Regions from separate parts of the Homo sapiens genome. Here region 1 is linked to region 2. Evidence: promoter capture Hi-C in 16 types of primary human blood cells and fetal thymus (Javierre and others, 2016). All regions are on one chromosome and are shown on one strand. The core of a region is centred on a gene start or on the middle of the fragment in contact, and the rest is flanking DNA. Distances in the headings are between cores, read along the strand shown.

The links. The method cuts DNA at HindIII sites, captures the fragments that hold promoters and counts their contacts. A CHiCAGO score of 5 or more calls a contact.
Region 1: a fragment that was not itself captured here is called in contact with the fragment with the promoter of WARS2 in region 2 in 1 of 17 cell types (M1 macrophages); the score reaches 5.0 in M1 macrophages.

What each region holds. Positions count from the first base shown.
Region 1 is chr1:118,142,625-118,145,903 of GRCh38, forward strand. All of the region lies in intron 3 of SPAG17 (sperm associated antigen 17), which reads right to left. Among named protein-coding and RNA genes, the nearest start is that of SPAG17, 41 kb to the right of the region's middle. The HindIII fragment of the contact is 2,678 bases long and covers 587-3,264 here.
Region 2 is chr1:119,138,788-119,142,045 of GRCh38, forward strand. WARS2 (tryptophanyl tRNA synthetase 2, mitochondrial) reads right to left here and starts at 1,866. Exons shown (of 6, transcript NM_015836.4): 1 at 1,768-1,866. The coding sequence starts at 1,857. It overlaps WARS2-AS1 (WARS2 antisense RNA 1), which reads left to right and starts at 1,609. Exons shown (of 7, transcript NR_125975.1): 1 at 1,609-2,006; 2 at 2,960-3,026. RefSeq lists an enhancer at 1,638-1,947. The HindIII fragment of the contact is 7,742 bases long and covers 1-3,258 here.

The DNA of each region.
Region 1 (3,279 bases), core at 676-3,175, 1.0 Mb before region 2:
CAGGTAATAAGTATTTTATATTTACTATCCCATGTAATCACCACTACAGCTTTATAAGATAGATACTATCATTTACGAGGATTTTACAAAGAGAAAACAGAGGTACAGCAGGGTTATGTAACTCGTGCAAGATTACACAGCTAGCAAGCAGTGGAACCAGGACATGATCCCAGGCAGTCTGGTTTGGTTCCATACTTTTAACCACTAGGTATATCGCTCACCAAACTAGTGGTAGGTACTCTGGAGATGAATTTACCTCTAATTAGTTTTAATTAGTGAGATTTTAGAAAGGTCTCTCCACACTTTGATCTCTGCTGAATATGTATTAACTTCCCTCTTATTTTCCATCTTTCTTTCTTTCATCCTCCAAAGAAAAGACATGGTCACTTAACCATATAAATCTTAACCATAAGAATTAAAAAACCCTGTTGACCCAAACATGTGGGCAAAAGCCACTCATCGAAGTGGCTTAAAAGCTCCAACTGAAATTATTTGATCTCTTCATCATCTGCAGATATACCTTCATGTTTTTGCCTGAGTAGAAGGAAAAGTAATAAACATATCATAGAACTACTGAGAGATTTAAAGCTTAATTCTAAGTAACTAGCAGTAGCTTATATTGAAGACATATTAAACCACAACAGTCACTTCCAGAATTTAAACTATTTATTCTCAGCTTGTGTGTGATGCAAGTAGAAAAAACAGACTTCTGAATCAACAAGTTACCTAACCAGTCTGATTCAAATTTCATCATTCATAGGTATCTGAAAGGTTGTTAAGATGGTTAAGTTAGCCAGGTGCAGTGGTTTACACCTATAATCCCAGTAATTGGGCTGGCAGGGGCGGGAGGATAGCTTGAACCCCAGGAGTTCAAGACTTACCCAGGCAACATAGCACGCTCCTGTTCCCCACAAAAAGAAAAAAGCCAGCCAAAAAAAAAGAGATTAGGTTAGTTGATATATATGAACTACCCAGCACACAAGACTTGGAATACATGTGTTCAATAAGTGGTAACTTTTATTATCACCATATGTAATTATTGATTTTTCACAGTTTTAAATACAGAAACAGAATGATACAATCTTCTTGATTCCTTCCCCAGCACCCCTCCAATCCTGGTGTCTGTAGAGTATAGGGTGTTAAGAGGTTTCAGAAACCACCCCAGCCCAGACCTGGAGGAGAAGCTGTGATGACTTCTCTTCATTAGCTGAACCTCACTTTATTCTTGTGGCTGGCCCTCCACTGAGGTCTGTCTTGGAACTCCTGATGAGATTCCTGCCTTGCCCACTGCCTGCAGGTCCTAGCCAGCAACCCAGTCCTTGTGTGGCATGGGCTTCCTGCTGCTGGATCCCCGGCTCCACTGCATCACCACCACACCTCCCCAGTGTCTACCTCCCCTCTCCTGGACTGCTAACTATTTGCCACATGGGCTTGGCCAGCTGCCTGACCCCCAGGGTGGAAGAGAGCTGGGGCATGATTTGAATTGTTTTTGAATGCCTTTACTTGAGTTCTGCTTTTCTTTGAAAATAGAACTCCAGGTTTCTGATCTGGGAGGCAAACGTATTCACACCCTGGGAGCCCATTCCTAAAGCAATGGAGCCCTGACCTTCTGCCCCTCAGTGACTAGCTTGAACTTGACTTTCTCTGCTGAGCTGCTTTGGTGCCCTCCAGAAATGTGGGGGCCCAGGGCTGTTAACACATCTGACTGCTCTTTTCCCCATCTTGACAAAAGTCATTCATTTGTAACTCTTCATAGCCCTTTGTAACCGTTTCTAGCATTACTATTTCTCCTCTTCTTTCCTTCTTCGGGTAAGAAATGCCTCCAAAACCCAGATTTTGGCACAAGAACTCCTAGATTGTTTTTATAGTCCCAACGTAGCACTTCTTTGTTACAGCTTGATATTCCCAAATTTTGTTCCAAGTCTCATTATTTTACATTTATAAATATCAGGTTGTATTAATTGGTTCCAGCTTTAAAAAATGTTCCATCAGGGGTTATTTCTGCTATTTTGATAGTGGTTTCTAAATGTGGAGTGCCGAGGCCCTGGTGTGGGCCACGTTCTGTAGGCATCCCTGAAGGACTGATGTGGAACGGAAAGATCCGCAGATTCTGAGTCTTGCTGTATTCTTTGAAGACTGTACTGGCCATAATAGCTTCAAAGAATTTCAACAAGTTCCTAAGACATGACCTTCCCTTTCCGAAAATCACGTTGGCCAGGCTTGCCTTAATCAAGCTGTGCTTTTCTAAGCATCCTTTTACTTGATCTCCTGCAGCAGTTTTTAATACTTTTCCTACAAGTGAAGTTAAACTAACTGGCCTGCAATTTCCTGGTGTGTCCCTAAGCTCTATGAAATAACGGCATTAGGTTGGCTAGCTTCCAATTCTTCCAGAATTTTTTTGTTTTGTTTTAAAGCGCGGGATTGAAAAGGCCAGAGAATGCTTCCTGTCTCCCTTTTCCTTCGTTTCTTCCATGACATACTGCTCTCTCTGTTCCCAGTAGAGCTGCCATTTTAATAACTTCAAACCTCTTAAATGTTTTCACATATTATTTGTACCTATCTCTGAAGCATGAGTTTTCCATTTTTCATTCTGACAAGGGCCACCCCCAATATAAGGGCTTACAATTCTATTAAATTGACTATTAATTCAAGGCACTGTTTAAAAAATGAGTTTCATATCAGGAATCTGAAAAAGAGTGGCAAAATAGATTATAATTAAGCCTGTGTTCTCACTTGTCAATTACTAATAAATACATGTTGGAAAAGACCTGAGAAAAATTTCTATACATCCAGGAAACAGAAGTCAAAAAATGGAACTATTACATCTGGGCATACTAATCTGAGGCACTAGCATAGTGTCTTAAAGTATGGTGAAATGCATTAGATCTGAAGATCTAATTTGCATTCTACATTTTATTAAACTGCATTTGGTCCATTATTTTTAAATCTAATATCAGAAAAATCTTTCCACATTTGATGGTCTCCCGGTTGCAATAGAAAGGCCCGTAGAAATATTTTAAGATATATTTGTTAAAAAGTTATTTTAAAAATTATTTTCTTAAAAATATGAGAATTTTTTTACTGACAGGAGTAAAAAAAAAATTAATAATTATTTGCATTTACAAAATTGCACCATATCACATAATGTTTAGGATAGTTCAAGTTCTTTATTGTACAGAAACTTGGAAAATTGTTTTGAAATAAGTGAGTCATCAACTAGAGCATAAGAACTTTTATTCTTTATAGACAATTTTTGTTTCAGTAAGCTTTTCATTTTTT
Region 2 (3,258 bases), core at 616-3,115:
AGCTAAATTAAAGGTTTAGAAACATTCATCGGTACTGGAAATTCTACATCTTGAAACAATCTAGATTAATAATTAACTTTAATAGCCCTATTCATAAATGCCACTGAAACAATAGTAGAGGTTTAAGAAATTTTTTCTTTAGCATTTATAATGACTTAGTGTCTTAAACTTCCCTGGGCAGTCATTAGCAGGCTGCAGTTTGTCTTTTTTTTCTCTCTCTCTTTGATTCTCTATTCTCAAGACATCTTCAATTCTTTAGTTTGGAATAAGGGGAAGTTTGGGTCTACGGCTTAGCTACTTTGATAGCATAGGTGTTAATGTGCTATAAATTATAAATAATCATCTCATTCTAGTTCTGCAGAATCAAACCCTCAAATTTCAAGGAGAGGAATTTTTGATAAATTTATCTAATTTTGAATTGTCTTACCTAACATTGCTGCTGAAATTTAAGGTGACATTTGAATAGTTGTTTGCTGACAAGCAGCTTTCCGGTATATATTAATATATTAGCTTATAAGAATTTTGTGAGGCTCACATTAATAAAAAACGGAAGTTCAAAAAATTTATGACATGACTAGAAAAATAAGTTGAACTTAAATTTTGGTTTTCATAATTACTCTCATTGGCTTTGTTTTGGCTTCATAATCATGGAACTATAGATTTTCCAGAGGTTGAAAGAACATTAACGTGTCAATCAGTCCAGCTCTCTTCCTCCACTCAATATGAGCAAAAAAAGAAGAAAAGTCCCAGAGAGATTGTGACTTGTCACACAGCTGTCAAGTGGCAGACCAAACCCTTGACCTCTAGGCTACCTTCCTGTCTAGCGCTGTTTTCAACACAACAGTTACAATAGGTGCGACATCCTCACACCTACTCATTATGGCAATACATATGCAAATGATGCCGGGAAATTACCTAATAAAATCACATTCTCTCCTTTCTCTCTAGTTCCCAGAATATATCTCCCGTAGATAAAGTATGTCAAAGTGCTTGCCACTGAGACTGTACTTGGAAGACGTTTGGTAAAATCCTGAATAACTGAAAGGGTATCCCCTCCCCCTGACTTTTTTGCTATGAGGGTAAAATTCCAAATATTTAAGACAATTCCCAATAAGACCAGGCCGCGACATGGTCTCCGTACGACGAGATTAATGGTAACAGCAGTGTTGTCAAGCGCAGGACAGGACAAACTCTGTAGCAGCTTGCGGTCACTCTTTCACAGCCTGCTAGATAGAGCAGTGCTGTGGAGCCACCAGGAGCAACCAGAATGGAAGATGCACTGACACTTGCTCAAGTACCACACTGCCAACCTGCTGCCCCGACCCAAGCTGCCCAATGCCTAACAAAACTTCTCTACTCTCTCCGATAGCCCCTTAGCGTGTTGTTAGGGTAAGGAGGGTAAAAACAGTAATAAGACCACAAGAAGAGCAGTCTCTAAAACAACCCGTCTCTGAAAACATCACACGCGGGGTAGGCTCACCGCGTTGCCCGGCAACAGCGGCGGCGCTCCGCTCCCAGAACTGGAGGTGGCGGCAAGAGGTCAGAAAGCGGCGCGCTTTTTCCACCAAGAAACCTTTACGTCATCACGTATCCTTGCAACGTCACTACGCTCTGAGCAGGCCGACAGTCATAGACGAGTAGACCTTAGGCGAGGGAAGGCATGTACTTTCCCTAAGAAGCGGGAGGAGAGAAATAAATAGAGGGCAGTGGGATGAGAAGAACCTCGCGGGATGGGAAGCCGCGGAGGGAAGGGCCGTCTTTGGTTACCTGGAGAGCGGGAGCAGCTGCGGATCCCTTATGAAGTGCCCGGATGAAGCTCCAGCGCTCACGCGCTTTCCGCATTGAGTGCAGCGCCATCTTGAGAAGGGCGGAGCCGTCTTGTTTGGAATGACGTCTGTTCAGAGAGCCAATCCCAGTCTCGCGACTCCTGCTTGCTGGGCGCGGCTTGGGCCTCCAGGCTGCGCAGCGCAGCCGCTATCGGGCGGACTGCAGTTCTTGCCGAGCAGGTGGGGACAGGAGCGGGGTGGGGCTTTAGTGTTTTTCCCTGGATCCCTTGTCTGCTCAGCCTTCCTGGAAGGAGAATTTCCTTGGGGGTTATTAGTAGCAACGCTTTAGACTGGAAGAAAGTCAAGTAGGCTGCATTTCTGATCTTAGCTATGTGAAGGCAACCTTTAAAAAGTTTGTTTAGAAACTCCCAGTTCTCTTAGAGGGTAATATAAGTGGTCTTTTTAGACATGTGTGGCCTCATTTCCCTTTTTTTTCTTTGAGACAAGGTCTCACTCTCGCCCAGGCTGGAGTGCAATGGCGCGATCTCGGCTCACTGCAACCTCCACCTCCCAGACTCAAGCTATTCTCCTGCCTCAGCCTCCTGAGTAGCTGGGACCACAAGGGTGCGCCACCACGCCCGGCTAATTTTTGTATTTTGGTGGAGACAGGGTTTCACCATGTTGCCCAGGCTCTCTCAAACTCCTGAGCTCAAGCCAAGCCATCTGCCTCGGCCTCCTAAAGTGCTGGGATTACAGGCATGTGCCACCGCACTGGACTTATGTGGCCTTATTTCATTCGTCCTGTAAACTTTGTTGAACCCTACCGTAATGTGCTGGGCACTGAAGGTACAGAGAAAGACATATCTTGTCTTCAAGTTGTGTACAGTCTAATAGAGTAGCGGATAAATAAATGATGTACACTTAATAGGTGTTAAAGAAGCAAGCACCGCAAGTTTTAAGGAGGAGTGGTTATGACTGTGGTGTTTCAACCTAGTCTAGGGAAGGCTGCAGGAAGGTTATACCTGATGGAAGAAATTGTTTTGTTTGGGGTTATGAGAAAGTTTAATACAGTTTTTCTGCTTCTGTTAATTCACCTAAAAATCTCCCAGACAGATAACGAGTGTTTCAGTAAAAATATAACTGGAAGAAATTCATGACAATTCCTTTATGTGTTTTGTTTATAATTCATCCAGCTACTGAAAATTACCAAGGAGAGGTAGGAGATAAGAGATGCCTATAAAGGAGCTGAAATCTACCAGGGTAAGACAAAACAGTAAATTAAAACCATATAGGATAATCTTGTAGGTATACAAAGTACTGGTGAAGTTCAAGTATAATTGGTGTAATTTAGAAGTGAGCAGGAAAGGGATGAAGGCAAAAAAAAAACTAGGAAATCAAGTTATAGTCTTCAACAAAGCTGATCAGTTTGGTTTTGGCTGTTAAATTTGAGGTGCTTGTAGTACTTCCAAAATGTGATGCCCATTAAATAGAT